Regions from separate parts of the Homo sapiens genome. Here all the other regions are linked to region 3. The links are contacts of gene promoters, found by promoter capture Hi-C in blood cells and fetal thymus (Javierre and others, 2016). All regions are on one chromosome and are shown on one strand. Each heading gives the region's core, a stretch centred on a gene start or on the middle of the fragment in contact. The rest is flanking DNA. Distances are from core to core; before and after follow the strand shown. Region 1 has its middle 14 kb from the start of IBTK. Region 2 overlaps IBTK (inhibitor of Bruton tyrosine kinase). Region 3 holds the start of PRSS35 (serine protease 35). Region 4 has its middle 41 kb from the start of IBTK. Region 5 overlaps IBTK (inhibitor of Bruton tyrosine kinase). Region 6 holds the start of TPBG (trophoblast glycoprotein).

Region 1 (2,700 bases), core at 70-2,569, 1.3 Mb after region 3:
CTCAGGACATTGTAAAATATTATCACATAACATCTTAGGTAGAAATAAGTAGGGATATTTATTCCATCCTTTATTCACATTAACATTTTAATTACTAAAAGTTGCTTCTGCATCCTCCCTGAACTATTGTGTGCTATCTATGTCCCTGCTTTATGCAAGTTCATTCGTCCGTTCTTTCTTTTCTTTTCTTTCTTTCTTTCTTTCTTTCTTTCTTTCTTTCTTTCTTTCTTTCTTTCTTTCTTTCCTTCTCTTTCTTTCTTTCTTTCTTTCTTTCTTTCTCTTTCTTTCTTTCTTTCTCTTTCTTTCTTTCTTTTTCTTCCTTCCTTCCTTCCTTCCTTCCTTTCTTCCTTCCTTCTTTTTTTTTTTCGACAGAGTCTCACTCTGTCACCTAGGCTGAAGTGCAGTGGGACAATCTGGGCACACTACAATCTTCACCTCCTGGGTTCAAGTGATTCTCTTTCCTCAACCTCCCAAGTAGCTGGGACTACAGGCATGGGCCACCATGCCCAGCTGTAAGTTATTTCTTAAGGTGAACTCAGATGTTATGTTTTTGTAAGTGTCTGCAATCATGGACAGGAATAAAATCACTTAGTTGAGAGTTTATATTAAAAAAAGTAAATAAATACAAAACTTGCTTATTACAGAAATGGAAATAAAGAAATCAGTTGTGTTTCCACCTGACAAAATTAATTTGCATGTTTGTGAATATGAGCTTGTTTGCACTGCTATCCATTATCTACAATTTGCAGAGTTGTAAAATATCTCAAAGACAATGAAAGGTGCAATGATCCCAGCTAAACCACCTAATTTTCTACTGAAGTCATCAGTAATCTTTTTGATGCATTTCAAAGTCTTTTATAGTTTTTCTCTACATTAGCAATCATGGAAAAAGTAGATTCCTTTCAGATGCTCCTATTTATCCCTCAGTTCTTTCACAAATAACTCCACTAGAAGCTTTCAATTAGCCGGGTGTGGTGGCAGGCACCTGTAATCCCAGCTACTTGGAAGTTTGAGGCAGGAGAATCCCTTGAACTTAGGAGGTAGACATTCCAGTGAGCTGAGGTTGCACCATTGCACTCCAGCCTGGGCAACAAGAGGGAAACTCCGTCTCAAAAAAAAAAAAAAAAAAAAAAAAGAAGAAGCTTTCCCTGATCCTTTCAACTGATTGTAATCTCTCTCTTTTTGTAGCTCCACAATCCCATTGTCTCTTTTATGACAGTGTCTCACTTTACTATCAGTGATACTTATGTATCTACCTTATTCTCCATACTAGATTTTAAATTGCTTTTCTTGAATCCTCTGCATTAGCTAACAGTGTCTACATATATAATATGCTCAATAGATATGTGTAATTGCATTTAATGTAATTCTTATATGCATTCAACTAGTCTTAATCAGCTTTGCTTATTATAGGTAGAGATAGCACCCTCCTGCAAAGTAAGATCTGAGGAGTGATCTTTATCTGAAACAGGTCTTAGTCAATTTAGGAAGCTTATTTTACCAAAGTTAAGAACACAGGCCCATGACACAGCTTCAGGAGGTCCTGATGACATGTGCCCAAGGTTGTTGGGGCACAGCTTGGTTTTGTACATTTTACAGAGATTACAATATGTAAGATGTACATTGGTTCTGTGTGGAAAGGCAGAATAACTCAAAGCGGGGAGGGGGCTTCCAGTTCATAGGTAGGAAAGAGACAAAGGGTTGCATTCTTTTGAGTTTCTGATTAGCCTTTCCAATGGAGGCAATCAGATATGCATTTATCTCAGTGAGCAGAGAGATGACTGAGTCCTCTCTGTCCTTTCTCTACAAGGAAATTTCTTGTGAGAGAGGTATGTAGCTTTTTATCTTAGTAGCTATCTTTTTTAGGAATAGAATGGGAGGCAGGTTTGCCCTAAGCAGTTCCCAGCTTGACTTTTTCCTTTGGCTTAGTGATTTGGCGAGGAGTGGGTGGGGGTGGAGGGTGTCCCAAAATTTATTTTCCTTTCACAGACTCATATTCCACAGCATTAATACAAATCAAAGAACTCCAGACAATGCTTGCTTTAGATCTGGCCTGTTCCCAAATCTCTCTCTCTTGAACTATGAGTGCCTGAAAACATTTCCAGTACTAGATTTACTAATGAATTTAGTGAATTAAGGCATCATCACTAAAAGGCAATTATGGTGCCTCACTACCCATTAGCTGCTATTAATAGAGCAGTATGGAGCAGTTTACCAGTTTGATAGGTCTCAAAAGAATGGTAAAGAAAAGGAAGTGAGTTTTTTTCCTTTCCTTTAAATAGGAAATGAGGAAGTAGAACACTTGTAGTTGGGGATGTGTTGGGTCTACATTTAATAAAGATAAACAGAAGTCCTTCATGGTCATCCTTATGAGAAGATTTTACTGGTATTTTCTCTAGTGCAATTAGAAGTTTAGAAAAAGATTTCCATGAAAAGTGTGAATAAAATATTTTAAAACCCTTTTAATGGATGCCTCTTATTTTTTGAAATACAGTTTAGATCGTGATCATCAGCTAATATTTATGGGTTGGCATTACATTGAAATATTTATGTTACTGGATGTGGAAACAGATTGGAGAAGTTTAAAACACTGTCTTTAAAACTGGCAATGATTGCTGTGGGACCCAGAAACAGTTGGCATCCTTGCATAAAAGACACTCGATGCCAATTACTTATGCACTAAATGGGTCTAGAATTCCA
Region 2 (2,700 bases), core at 142-2,641, 1.3 Mb after region 3:
AGGGCAAAGAAGAAGGATTTTTTTTTTATGTTTACTGAGATGCTTCAAATTAGGTGCTTGATATGTTCACTAAAGCTCAAAGGAATAATGTCAAGAATAGTTTTAGATAACATAAAGATAAAAAAAGGATAGATAATATGCCTAAAATTTATTTATGAAGCAATGAAAATAGGAATCAGGAGACCTAGTAAATGGGAAAGCTATTATCTTAGGACTTTTCTAAATTTAAAATTCTGTGACTCTGTGTTCTCTGTGTTGTATGAATTACCGTTAGTGTTTAGAAGGAGGCAGGGGTGGATTGATGGAAGGATGAATAATGGATAGACAGTCTTGAAAGTAATGACTTTCCAGTCACCTAAATGACTTATGGAAAAGCAGATATTTGGTTTGTTTTAAATAATGTTATTGTTACCATATGTGTTAGAATCTTAGAATTTCAGAGCTAGAAGAGACATTAGTAATGAAATAATTTATGTCCCTTACTTTAAACCTAAGGAAAGAAGCTCAAAAAACATAAGTGATTTGAAGTAGTGACCAAAAGAAATAAAATTTGTTCTCTTGATTCCAGGTCCGTATTTTCCTGGTGTACTGTTCTTTCTGTGGCCAGGATATCTGTAGTCAAAGATAACTAAAAGGTCAGATTTAATTGGAGGCCAAAAAGACCTGTTAAGGAAGAAAATTTGAGTATGAGGCCAATTTCATCAAAGACAGTTGCGTAAAAGCTTAACATCTGTGTCGATCTTAAAGTTAGACAAACGGCATTCAGCAAAACTGTTTTTGACCAGAAGTAATTGTTGGCCACATTAATTGTCCTCTTTTTTTCTGGATTTATTTCTAACTGACTTTTGAGAGTGTTCTAATATTAGATGTATTCTCTTCGATGAAAATTTGCCAGCCTTAAAAATATTCAAAAAGAGGCAAGACGCAGTGGCTCCTGCCTGTAATCCCAGCACTTTGGGAGGCCAAGGCGGGCGGACCACAAAATCAGGAGCTCCAGACCAGCCTGGCCAATATGGTGAAACGCTGTCTCTAGTAAAAATACAAAAAAAATTAGCCGGGCATGGTGGTGCATGCCTGTAATCCTAGCTACTTGGAAGGCTGAGGCAGGAGAAACACTTGAACCTGGAGGTGGAGGTTGCAGTGAGCTGAGATCATGCCACCGCACTCCAGCCTGGGCAATAGAGTAAGACTCTGTCTCAAAAAAAAAAAAAAATTCAAAAAGATTGTGTGGCAAAAAAAATGTTTAAATGTTCTTTCCAAATTGTAGTGATAACAATAAAAGAAACATTTAGCTTGTTAAGGTGATTTACTTTAAAGAGAACAATGTATAAGAGATGGTAGGTTTTATTTTTAAATCAATTATACAGCTTTTAGTTACAAGTTAGATAACATCTTTATTTTATAGCTTATTTTGGTACTTCATTTAGATTCTAATAAATTTGAAATGTGTGGAAATGGACATGTGAATCTAAGCAAAAGTTTGAACCTGGATACCAGGTGTGGCATGAGGCCAGGCATTTAGCTTGCCTAAGAGAAGAAATGATATATACATTTCACAACAACCCTCTTGCTTCAAGCGAGCTCTCAATAGCCAGAGATTTCAGGGAAAAACACACTTCAAACAGGCCACAGTTGTCTTCTGCGGGAGCCTCTGCTATGGGGTCAGTCAGCTGGCTAAGTGAGAGGCAAAAAGGCCACAGGGTTCCTCCCACATAGAATGAAGCTACCCCCTTGCTTGGGTGCGGAGACCACTGTACCAAGAGACAGATGAGAAAGGGAAAAGAGGTCTGGATTTTAATTATTTTCCCTTTCTCCTTTGTCTCTTATGCGGACAAAAATATTTTAAATCACTTTTTAGAGCAGATCCCAAAGAACTATCTTCCTCAGGTTCATTACACAATTGGTGTGTGATTGTAATGAATAAAATTATTGTTTTAGAATCTCTTCCATTTCAGTTTTTCACTTAAACTGATTTCTTTCTCCAGTTAACTTGAATTATTAAGATTTTTATACCATAAATATAATTTGAATGTTATTAAATCTGGATAAATGAAAGCTTTTTTAGCTCTCTGGTTCATGGAATGTAATGCATATATGTTTAATGCATATGTGTTTAATTTTTTTTAATTTCATGTTTTAGGATTATTAAAGTCTGGTAAGACCAATTCTGTGGAATCTCTTCCAGAACTGTTGACATCAGACTCTGAAGGAAGCTATGCAGGAGTGGGTAGTCCTAGAGATTTACAGTCCCCTGATTTCACAACAGGATTTCATTCAGATAAGATTGAGGTTTGTTTTTTGAAGCACTACCTCCTTACCTTCAGATTTTAGATTTATAGATGGTTTATCTTTAATATTTCCTTATTTTTGCCCTAATTTTAAAACAGTTTCCAGGTTGGTATATAAGAATCACAAATATAGTGTTAGTTTTCTTAAATTTGCACAACATTTCTATTTTTAGAGATTGTAATGGCAGTTTTGAGCCCTTTATGATGTTATTTCTAGTCTTTGTGCAACTAAAATATAATGTTGATGTAAAATATAATAACACTATAGACATGTTGAAAAAATATATTTGTAGCTAAATTATTGAAATTTATCTTGTGAAATGTCAGTTAACATCAGTTAAAAATTGTCAAGGCAAATGATTTCGAAAATAAGCCTACTTTGAAAGTTCGCAGTCTCTTTCCTCCAGGGTAT
Region 3 (2,700 bases), core at 141-2,640:
TATGCTTGTTTGATATTTGAGCATTGGGCAGAGGAAAATCATTTACCCAATGGAGAAAATTAACTCACACTAGCAATTGCTTATTTTAACATCTAATGAACACATACTGTATGCCAAGTATATGCTAAACAGTCTCACATTTTAAAACGTGAAAAAGCTTCTTAAAAGCATGCAGTTTTCCCAGCTATCTGGAAGAAAAATGGGGTACAGTATCCACATCTACCACTTCCCTCACTAAAGGAACTCCTCTAATATTTCCTAATAAAAATAAAATTCCATATGATACTTGGCCTCTACCTTCAAGCCTACATGTCTTATTTGGCAGGGATTTTAACATTCTCTCTTCTAAATTATAAACCAGATTCTAAGTATAATTCTCCAGCCAGCAAAATATGACTTTTATAATCCTCTGTGGAGACAAATGTACTTCGGATAAAATAAGAATGAATTTCAGAAGTCAGAAGGGTTAATAAGGGGTGAAAGCCCCCTAGACACAGCAAGCAGCTTCTTTTCAAATCAAGGACAGTGTAAAAATGTCAGAGCAATCAAGCGGGAGTGTTTCTACAACTTTTTAAAAAACCTTTTATTATAGAAAATTTCAAGACTACACAAAAGCACAGAGAAAAGTATTAAGTTGAGAGAAAAGTACAACCCCCATGTGCACATCACCAGCTTCAACTATTGTCAATATTTTGCCAATGTTTCATCCACCATCACCACCCCACACACTTTTTTTTTTCAGCTAGAGTATTTCAAAGCAAGTCAAAAGCTTTTCTACTTCATTTCGCCGCCTCATTTTCTAAACGTTTTCCTATGCTCCTTTTGCTGACCTCCGCAGCCAAGTTGATAAAAGGGTAGAGGGGAGAGGCTAGCTTTCATAGTAACCCCGCCAAAGAGACTTTTCAGGAATGCGTTTCATACCTTTCTCAATGGCATCTGTTAACAATCATAAAAATAAAGAGGGTCCCCTCTGGTACTGCTTAAGCAGAAAGAATTCCATTTATATTCCAATGCAAACATTGTTGTCGTTAATATTAAACTGTGCAGAGGCCGGCACACAGAATTGCCTATGGGAAGGGTGGTTAGTTTCTTTGAGGACTGAAAGAAAGTGTCAAGTTTGATCCCTTTCTTCAAAGTCCTTCAAAGAAGCTCTCCTCGGGTAGGTCCTGCCTTTCTCAGGGAAATTTCTAAGTTCTAAGGTTGTTGGGTTTGGGGAGCTTCATCTTTACCTGCCAGGCTTGTTTGGTCCCCGAGGGCACTGTCAGCTGAGATCAGAGCTCCCGAGGAGGCGGGCGGGGACGCTGCAGCTGGGAGCCTCTCAGCCAGCCTGAGCCGGAGGCCGCCCCGCCAAGGCCGGGCCACAGCACCCAGAGCTCGCCACTGAGACTGCGGAGGGGGAGAGAGCTGCGCCGCACCACGGCCGGGAGATGGGAGGGGAAAGGGGGCGATGACGAGGGGCGGGCGCGGTGGGATGGAGTGGGGGGAGGGGAGGAGGAGGAGGTGGGCAAGAGGAGACGGAGAGGGAGGGCGGAGAGGGGAGTTCCCTGGAGGAACGGGGCGGACCTGGCCGTGTCTCACCCCAGCATTTCTGCCCCCAAGCTGAATTAAGCATTAGGAAAAATTCATGAGTAGGTTCACAGGGGATGCCTGTCCCTGTAATAGTATGCACTCCTTTAACAGTCTCAGGAGTTGTTCAGTTAAGAGTCTCATTCCTCACTGCTTGCTGTTGAGACCCCAGGCATCTAGAAGAACGGAGGGCGTCTCCCCAACCTTATCCCAAGCTAGTCTCCACCGGGGACCTAGCTTCTCTGGATGCACAAGCCTCAGGGTTACCCCGACTTGTACCAGGCGCCCAGGCTGCACACGAGGATGGGGACCTCAGGCTGGGACGCCTGGACCCCCGGGAGCATCCTGCGCTGCCTCCAGGGGGAGCGCGTCAGTTTCCGTCTGCAGGGAAAAGGCTGGTTTTCCTCTTTGGGCGAGTAACCTTTAAGGTCCTTTCCCATCTCAGTCCCACCAGCATTCTAACCTCATCCGTTCTCTCGACCTTTTATTCTCCTTTAGGAGAGGGGTGGGGGCCACATGAGAAAGGAAGCTTCATTTGTTTAACAACAAATTCTAGTGGGTGACAGGTCTGGGGCAAGATGAACTGATACAACGAGAGAATACATAAACAAAAACAAAAACAAAAACAAAAAAACTCGGTCCTGGCCCTAAAGCAGGGAGATCGAGTAAGTGCACAAGTACTTACAACACAAGGTCTTAGCATGTCTTGTAACACTTGGTTCGTTAGTAGGTTATTGCGTATCTCAAGTTCTGTGTACTTTTAATGAGATTATAACATACTTAGCATTGTCCCTCGTTATACTCAACGGACTAGTTCCAGGCCCTCTTCCCCTCCGCCCCCCCATACTAAAATCATCCCATATTCAAGTCCAAGTCCAGCTGTGGGCCCTGGGGAACCCGCGTATAGGAAAAGTCTGCCCTCTGTTTAAGCATTTCTGCCTGAAAATACTGTTTTCTATCCGCTTTTGGGTGAAAAAAAAAATCTGTGTATAAGTGGACCTGTGCAGTTCAAATATGTGTCCAAGGGCCAACTATATATACAATTTCATTGCTGTTTTCTCATTTAGCATTGTTAACATAAGCATTTACCCATATATTAAAATCTATTGGTAATTTTTACCAGTTAGAATTAGT
Region 4 (2,700 bases), core at 194-2,693, 1.2 Mb after region 3:
TTAGCCAGGTGTGGTGCTGGGCACCTGTAATCCCAGCTACTCAGGAGGCAGAGGCAGGAGAATTGCTTGAACTCGGGAGGTGGAGGTTGCAGTTAGCCGAGATCACGCCGTTGCACTTCAGCCTGGGCAACAAGAGCAAAACTTTTTCTCAAAAAAAAAAAAAAGAAAAAACTCAGTGGTGATTAATTTCATGTAATATTATTCACTGCTGTAATCCCCTCCTTGCTCTTCCCCTGCCTCAGAACCAAGAAATATTTGAATCCAATACAAGGATTCTTGCTATAGACTTATATTAAAAGGTTTAATTAACAGAAAATCCTGCACCAAATACAATCAAACACAGAGATTGCTCTCCATCAAGATCTCAGGGATTCCTGAGCAACCTCTGTCTATAGAGTCCATTCACTTTAATCAGAATCACTGACACATTGTCTTGCTGAGAAGCTGTGACAGACTTTAGTTTGCATTCACTTTTTTTTTTTTTTAATTTTATTTTAAGTTCTGGGATACAAGTGCAGAACGTGAAGGTTTGTTACATACATATACGGGTACCATGGTGGTTTGCTGCACCTATCAACCCATCATCTAGGTTTTAAGCCCCTCATGCATTAGCTATTTGTCCTAATGCTCTCCTTCCCCTCACCCCCCACCCCCTGACTGTCCCTGGTGTGTGTTTTTCCCCTCCCTGTGTCCATGTGTCCTCATTATTCAACTTCCACTTATGAGTGAGAACATGCGGTGTTTGGTTTTCTGTTTCTGTGTTAGTTTTCTGAAGATGATGTTTCCAGCTTCATCCATGTCCCCGCAAAGGACATGATCTCAATCCTTTTTATGGCTGCATAGTATGGTATTCCATGGTGTATATGTGCCACATTTTCTTTATCCAGTCTACCACTGATGGGCATTTGGTTGGTTCCATGTCTTTGCTATTGTAAACAGTGGTGCCGTAAACATATGTGTGCATGTGTCTTTATAGTAGAATGATTTATATTCCTTTAAGTATATACCCAGTAATGGGATTGCTGGGTAAAATGGTATTTCTGGTTCTAGATCCTTGAGGAATGGCCACACTGTCTTCCACAATAGTTGAACTAATTTACATTCTCACCAACAGTGTAAAAGTGTTCCTATTTCTCCACAGCCCCTCCAGCATCTATTGTTTCTTGACTTTTTAATAATTGCCATTCTGACTGGCATGAGATGGTATCTCATTGTGGTGTTGATTTGCATTTCTCTAATGATCAGTGATGTTGAGCTTTTTTTTGTATATTTGTTGGCCACATAAATGTTGCAATCACTTTTATATTCAAGTTTCTAGGACTTTTTGGAACTCTCCTTCATGTAATGAATTTTGAAAGTAACCAAGACTTTCCCTTTAGCTCTTAGCCTATGGAATCATCTTCTCTACTCTCTAGAAGCCCTTGCTTAACTTCACTGAGTGTTATCTATTATTCACTTATCACCTTCTGGGAAGCCATTGAACAAAGAAAAACCTGGAGAGTCATGAGAACTCTCTGCTGTTTGTAGGAGGAGAGAACTTAAATTCTTTGCTAATGATCACCATCTTATTTCTATTATAATTTTCTTATCTTGGGCAGAATAATGTTTCCTCTCTACTCTATCATCCAGTGGACTTACTACTACCACTTTTCTCATTCTTCCAATGCTTTTTTACAATATATCCCTGCATGACAGTCTCATTTTGGGAGATGTGTTAAACCATGCACAAATGGGAAGAAAAAACCTAGCGCCAATAATAATAACCTGATGTTAGTGAAGAAAGAAAGTTATACAATCCAGTCAATGTTGAATATCAATGGGGCACAAATGAATTGACCAACAACCAATCTCTGTTCTCAGCTTTCCTGGGGAGATTTCTGTCTTTGCTGTTTTCATTGAATCCTCATTTGTTTTCTTACCTTTCAGGCAGCCATTTTACTTCACTGGCCTAATATAATCAGTTCTTATCTGTGGGTTCCATATCCCTGGATTCAATCAACTGGAGACAGAAAACATATAAAAACAAATAAATACATAAATAATGACAATATGGGCTGGGTGCGGTGGCTCACACCTGAAATCCCAACACTTTGGGAGGCCAAGGTGACCAAATCACCTGAGGTCAGGAGTTCAAGACCAGCCTGGCCAACATGGTGAAACCCCATCTCTACAAAAATACAAAAATTAGCTGGATATGGTGGCAGGTGCCTGTAACCCCAGCTACTCTGGAGGCTGAGGCAGGAGAATCACTTGAATCTGGGAGGCAGTGGTTGACTGAGCCAAGATCGTGCCTTTGCACCCCAGCCTGAGCAACAGAGCGAGACTCCGTCTCAAAAAAAATAAGTATAAATAAATAAATAAATAAAATAGGCCAGGTGCGGTGGCTCACACCTGTAATCCCAGCACTTTGGGAGGCCGAGGCAAGCTGATCATGAAATCAGGAGTTTGAGACCAGCCTGACCAACATAGTGAAACTCTGTCTCTACTAAAAATACAAAAAAATTAGCCGGGCATGGTGGCGGGCACCTGTAATACCAGCTACTTGGGAGACTGAGGCAAGGAGAATGGCTTGAACCTGGGAGGCGGAGGTTGCAGTGAGCTAAGATCGCGCCACTGCACTCCAGCCCAGGTGACAGTGTGAGACTCCATCTCAAAAAAATAAATAAAAATAAAACAATAATAACACAACAATAAAAACAA
Region 5 (2,700 bases), core at 130-2,629, 1.3 Mb after region 3:
AGTCTTTAGTGAATGTGAGAGGGGTGAGCAAGATGGTGAGAAATCAGAGCAGGGGCAGCAAGTGTACAAGCTGCTCACCTAGTCTAGAGCTTTTTGCAGACATGCTAGTCAGTTTTTTTTTTCTCATGCTGAGCTTGAGTGGGTCCTCAGACTCCTCCTTAAAATGATAATCCAACCATTAGCAGCCACTAATGATTGATTGGAATTGTGGCACAAGAAAGACACCTGTTTTTCCTTTTTTGAGGTAGTACATGATATACCTTTATTTCATGAGCTGTTACGGAGCAGGGATTTTAAAGACAAGAGTGAGGGAATCATGATGGCATTAGGAAATCAGAGGGTGATTGAAATGTCTGATCCAAAGAAATATATAGTTTGGAATATTTGAGCATATTCCATTTGCCAGGGTTGTGAGTGAACTAGTGTACTCAAAGAGAAAGCCACATTTCAGGTAAGGCAAGGCAGTGGGCGTGTTTTGTGAAGGTATTAAGGATCTAAGGGATTTTATTTACCACAGAATGAGGGTGAAGCAAGCACAGTGGGTAGGTTTGAAGGAAAGAAATCAGTATAAATTTCAGTCAGGGAAGAGAAAGCAAGTATGGGAATATTAATTGAGTACCAGTTATATAGAGAGCCCCATTTGTTATTGAAAAGGGGCTGATTCTATATTATACAGTACCAAATTAATTAACTACCATGAGACAGAGATTATTAATGTTAGTATTATATATTCCAGATAATTAAAAGCGAAAATCCATGCTCAGTTCTTATTTAAAAATTCAGGGGTTTTAGGCTGGGCGCAGTGGCTCATACCTGTAATCCCAGCACTTTGGGAGGCTGAGGCGGGCAGATCACGAGGTCAGGAGATCGAGACCATCCTGGCTAACACAGTGAAACCCCATCTCTACCAAAAATATAAAAAATTAGCCAGGCGTGGTGGCGGGCACCTGTAGTCCCAGCTACTCGGGAGGCTGAGGCAGGAGAATAGCGTGAACCCGGGAGGCAGAGCTTGCAGTGAACCGAGATGGCGCCACTGCACTCCAGCCTGGGTGACAGAGCGAGACTCCGTCTCAAAAAAAAAAAAAAAGTCTGGGGTTTTTAAAGTTGGATAACTTAAAACTGTCTAGTATTGCAACTGTTGTTTAGTAGTAGAAGTCAGCAGTTGTAGGATGGCATTCTAATATTTAATATAAAATTGAATGAAATGTATTCTTTCTTATTTCATAAAATGAATTTCACTGACAACTTGTAAATTTAAAATACAAATTTGGATTTTATTTTTAAACTTTTTAGGTATTTGTGGTACAGCTAAATGAGATAATAATCTTTGCATTACTTTTTTTATTTGATAGCTATATTGTGCTTACAAAATTCCGAGCGGTCTAGGGTATGTGTAAATATTTAGAGCTTGTCTAGCTTATAATTTTTTTGTTTTCCAAAGGACCTTGACTTTCTGGAAATGATTTTAGGGTTTCTTTATTTCTTACTCATCTTTTTATATCCTAAGTTAGAAATATTTGCAGATGTTGTAAGAAATATAAATGCAAACAATCTTTAAAAATGAGAAGATTTTAAAAATATTATTAAGGTAAAGTGAGTATAATGAATATCAGAGCTTGGAAAATAGCAAAATGTGGCCCAGGGTTAGATATGTAAATATATATATATTTGAAACTGCTGATGGTTTCCTGTTATTGTGTTCTGCTGAGGCAGTTCAACTGTTTCAGTATCTTTGTCTTCTGTAGTATGTGAATAGTAAGTCTGTGTATCAGGGGCAAGGGAGTGTACTGAGATTGAGGCAGATAAGGAAAAAGGAAGTGGGAAAGGAGAGAAAAACTTGAAAATAAATATAAAATTATTTATTAAAATAATTATAAATGTATATTAAAGACATGTTGATAAAACCAAAGATAAAGAAAAGGACATACTGCCCCCTACGCCATGTATAAATGGCTTTATTGTTTTTTGAAAACACTCTGAAGATGTTTCTATTATTTTTATTAGTACCATATATCACTATTTGGTAATCTTTATGCTTCCTGTTGCACTTTGCTCATTTCTTACTGTTTGATATTTCATGAAACTGGAAAACAACTGGCTACTAATTTTTGGAATTGAAGGTTTAAAATTATATTTTCCTTTGGGTAATCTCTTCTGTGGGTAACACATGCTTAATTCTTTCTTTGTTCTTTTTTTTCGTGTCAATGTTTTTAGACATAATTTTAAAACAAAGCATATGTATCTTTTATTTTTATTACAGGAAACTTAAAATGTGGAAATTAAAGTCTTATAAATTCCCCTTGTATCCATTATCCTGTTTAAACAATTAACAATATTCTATTTCTTTTTCATAAAATAAAGGATATTTTATTCAGAGAAGTTTAATAATATTCTCTTGTTTTCCCTTAGGTGGTGCTTTGTAAATTTCACTCCGTGTTTCTGTCTCAGAAAGGGCAGGTTTATACCTGTGGTCATGGTCCTGGAGGGCGATTAGGACATGGAGATGAACAGACATGCTTGGTAATTGAAATGTCATTACACTATTTAGGTAACTTTAGAAAAATGCTGATAAGCTGAAAGATTTAATTAACTAAATTTTTTTTTCAACTGTAAGGACGAAATAATACATCAATTGATAATAGATTTTAAAAAATCTGTTTCCTGATATATCATGTTTAAATTAAGGATTTACATACAATG
Region 6 (2,700 bases), core at 191-2,690, 1.1 Mb after region 3:
TGCAGAGTTGTCCTTGGTCTGTCCTCTAATATTTCTCAGACATCCGAGTTAGAACTGAGGTTCGTTAATCTGGGGTCCGCATTGATTTCATATCTGTAATGATACCCTTCCATGTGATCCCTGCAGGCATCTCTGATGTTATGCATCCACTTTTTTATCCCCTTGCGGTTCAAATACAAAACCAGGAGGAAAATAGCGCCTATCAGGGCTAAAACAATACCCAGGAAGACATAAGAGGTTTGCAGGGATGGGGGAAGAATCGGGTCACAGTCCAGGTCAGCACTGTTGAGTTCCAAGAGGACCCGATTCCTCATTTTTTCCGGATATGCACAGGTGAGCCGGTCTTTGCCCTGCACTACCTCTGTTTCCTTGAGCCAGGTCACCATGTCTGCCATGTGGCAGTCGCAGACCCAGGGATTGTTGTCCAGGAAAACCCTAATGTGGGGTAGACCTTGCAACTCAGCCAGGGTGCCATTGTGAAGGACCTTGAGGGCATTGTCCTCCAGGTGGAGGCTTTCTAGATGTGTCAGGTTGCGGAAGGACACGTAGGTCAGGCTCACCAGCGAATTATTACTTAAGTCCAGGTGCCTGAGGCTGGGCAGTTGGGCCAGCACATCCCGCGGCAGGTAAAGGAAGTGGTTGCTGGCCAGCTCCAAGCGGCGGAGCCCCTGCAGTGCACGGCCCGCCAGCAGGGCCGCCACCACCATGCCCTCGAAGCTCCGGTTCTGCCGCTCATCTTCAGGGGGCACGATGTGGTTCAGGATCAGTTCCACAAGGGGACTGGGGGCCGAGACGCTGGCATTGCTGCCCGAGAAAGCGAAGGGACTGAGGTCGGCCAGTGGGTTGTGGCTGAGGTCGAGCTGGCGCAGGCTGGGCAGATGCTCGAAGGCGCCCGCGCGCACCTCGTCCAGGCGGCTGCCGCTGAGGTTGAGCGCGGCCAGCTCCGCCAGCGGCGGCCGGCGGGCGAAGGCGCCGGCAGGGAGCACGGCCAGCTGGTTGCCGGTAAGGAAGAGGTTGCGCACGTAGGCGGGCAGGTCCGTGGGCACCTCGGTCAGATTGCGGTTAACGCACTTGACTGTGCGCGCTGCCTCGGAGCACTCGCACAGCGCGGGGCACTGGTCCGGCAGCGGGGGCTGGGCGGACACGGCGGAAGCCAGGAACGGCGCCGAGGAGGAGAAGGAGGATGCCGAGGAGGTGGGAGAAGACGAGGAGACCCAGCCCAGGAGTACCAGCGCTAGTCGCGCCAGCCGCAGACGCCCGTCCCCGGCGGCGGGGCCCCGGGAGCACCCCCCAGGCATCGCGGCTCGCGTTTCCCCGGAGCTGGGCTGGGACGGCGCCCGCTCCGAAGGCTCGGGAGGCTGGGCCCGGAGGGCGCGAGCCGGCGGAAGCGTCTGGAAAAAAAAAACTTTCCTCTCGTGGAACCGAGGGAGTGGCGCCGCAGCCGGAACTTGGCTAACCCCCTCGCCACCGGGCGCTTCCCTCAGGGGCCGATTCCCCCGCCCCTTCCCTCCAGAAAGTACGCACGGCGGGTCGGGACGCTCCGCTCCGCGCTCCTGCTCCCGCTCCTCTTCCTGCCGCCGCCCTGGTGCCACCTCTTCGCCTCTTGTTGGCGCCCCTCGCTGGATCCTCTGAGGGACCTGGGACAAGCAGGAGAGAGGCGTGAACAGCGGTGGCTGCCGCGGCTTCCGGAGTGCAAAAACCGGCCTTTTCGAGTCTAGTCGTCTCCAGTCTGTCCCAGAGACCTCCTTCCAAAAGCCCGCCCCGGCCTCGCCTCCCCAACCCCTCCGGTCACTTTTACTCCGGAGGGGGACGCGCATCCGACACCCAGACCGCAAAGTCTTCCTTCTTCCCTGGCCCACACTAAATAAACCCGACCGGCCTCCCGCCCTCCGCCTTTCCCGAGGAGACTCGTCTCCCGCGTCTAACTTACCGCTTAATCCCCAATTCCTTCCCTACCAAACTTCTCCCTCTCCCGTTCCTTCCTGCACCGCCTCGGCGGAAGGTCGGCCTCCGGGTGTCTCCGCCCCCGCCCAGACCTCTCCACCAGGTCCCGGTTAGGATGCGAGGGAAGTTTCAGGTTACAGGACTTTTTGATCTCTTTTTGTACCTTCTCGCATTAGCAGGAAGTGGAGCTACAACTGTCGCCCCCCAGCCCGCGCCCCGCCAGCCCCTCGGATCTCAAAGGGGTTCAAGTCATCTCCAAAGAGGAGGGGAGAGTCTGGGAACAAAGCAGCAGTGGGACTCGGGGTACAGTGGCAACCCGAACCAACCCTACTCTCCACCCGAGGATGGGGAGGGGCCCCAACGACGCCTCCCGGGTCTCTCCCAGGCCGCGGGCTCCCACTGCTCACCTCCGCGTCCGCCGCCTCCAGAACCAACTCTGAGTTCCACCAGAGTAGCGACGACTTCCCGGCTCCGCGTTGCGGGCGCCGACTCTCTTCGCACCCCAGCCCCTGGCCCAACCTCCCAACCTCCGCAGCTGGGAAAAACCAACCCGGGGGGCGGGGGAGGGCCAGGACTGTCGGGGAGATTCCCGACGCGCGGCCAACCTCGGCAGCCGTAGGTAGGGGGATTTAAGAAGAGAGACTAGGGGAGCTGGGCTGCGCGCCTCCTCCTGGTGGAAATTAACGAGGAATGTGCCGGAAAAGGTGAGGGAATCCCTTTCTCTCCCCCCTCCCCGACATCCTTGGGTGGTTCCTC

What was found. Contacts are between HindIII fragments. The CHiCAGO score rates a contact against its expected background, and 5 or more counts as called.
Region 1: a fragment that was not itself captured here is called in contact with the fragment with the promoter of PRSS35 in region 3 in 8 of 17 cell types (naive B cells, total B cells, total CD4 T cells and 5 more); the score reaches 9.6 in naive B cells.
Region 2: a contact is called between a fragment that was not itself captured here and the fragment with the promoter of PRSS35 in region 3, in 1 of 17 cell types (M0 macrophages). The highest score is 5.8, in M0 macrophages.
Region 4: a contact is called between a fragment that was not itself captured here and the fragment with the promoter of PRSS35 in region 3, in 1 of 17 cell types (naive B cells). The highest score is 5.6, in naive B cells.
Region 5: a contact is called between a fragment that was not itself captured here and the fragment with the promoter of PRSS35 in region 3, in 1 of 17 cell types (M0 macrophages). The highest score is 7.3, in M0 macrophages.
Region 6: a contact is called between a fragment that was not itself captured here and the fragment with the promoter of PRSS35 in region 3, in 1 of 17 cell types (endothelial precursors). The highest score is 6.2, in endothelial precursors.

What each region holds. Positions count from the first base shown.
Region 1 is chr6:82,260,637-82,263,336 of GRCh38, reverse strand. No RefSeq gene overlaps it. Among named protein-coding and RNA genes, the nearest start is that of IBTK, 14 kb to the right of the region's middle. The HindIII fragment of the contact is 349 bases long and covers 1,145-1,493 here.
Region 2 is chr6:82,195,887-82,198,586 of GRCh38, reverse strand. It overlaps IBTK (inhibitor of Bruton tyrosine kinase), which reads left to right. Exons shown (of 29, transcript NM_015525.4): 22 at 2,141-2,289. Among named protein-coding and RNA genes, the nearest start is that of IBTK, 51 kb to the left of the region's middle. The HindIII fragment of the contact is 1,334 bases long and covers 725-2,058 here.
Region 3 is chr6:83,511,224-83,513,923 of GRCh38, reverse strand. It overlaps PRSS35 (serine protease 35), which reads right to left and starts at 1,390. Exons shown (of 2, transcript NM_153362.3): 1 at 1,230-1,390. The HindIII fragment of the contact is 1,326 bases long and covers 772-2,097 here.
Region 4 is chr6:82,286,897-82,289,596 of GRCh38, reverse strand. No RefSeq gene overlaps it. Among named protein-coding and RNA genes, the nearest start is that of IBTK, 41 kb to the right of the region's middle. RefSeq lists a silencer at 1-170. The HindIII fragment of the contact is 8,846 bases long and covers 1-2,700 here.
Region 5 is chr6:82,227,012-82,229,711 of GRCh38, reverse strand. IBTK (inhibitor of Bruton tyrosine kinase) reads left to right here. Exons shown (of 29, transcript NM_015525.4): 5 at 2,410-2,520. Among named protein-coding and RNA genes, the nearest start is that of IBTK, 19 kb to the left of the region's middle. RefSeq lists a silencer at 1,643-1,843. The HindIII fragment of the contact is 2,775 bases long and covers 1-2,700 here.
Region 6 is chr6:82,363,560-82,366,259 of GRCh38, reverse strand. It overlaps TPBG (trophoblast glycoprotein), which reads right to left and starts at 2,443. Exons shown (of 2, transcript NM_001376922.1): 1 at 2,352-2,443; 2 at 1-1,637. The coding sequence starts at 1,298. The coding sequence ends at 36. It overlaps LOC105377875 (a long non-coding RNA gene), which reads left to right and starts at 2,603. Exons shown (of 3, transcript XR_942738.4): 1 at 2,603-2,648. RefSeq lists enhancers at 29-930, 931-1,833, 1,985-2,496, 2,497-2,700 and a silencer at 883-962. The HindIII fragment of the contact is 2,910 bases long and covers 1-2,700 here.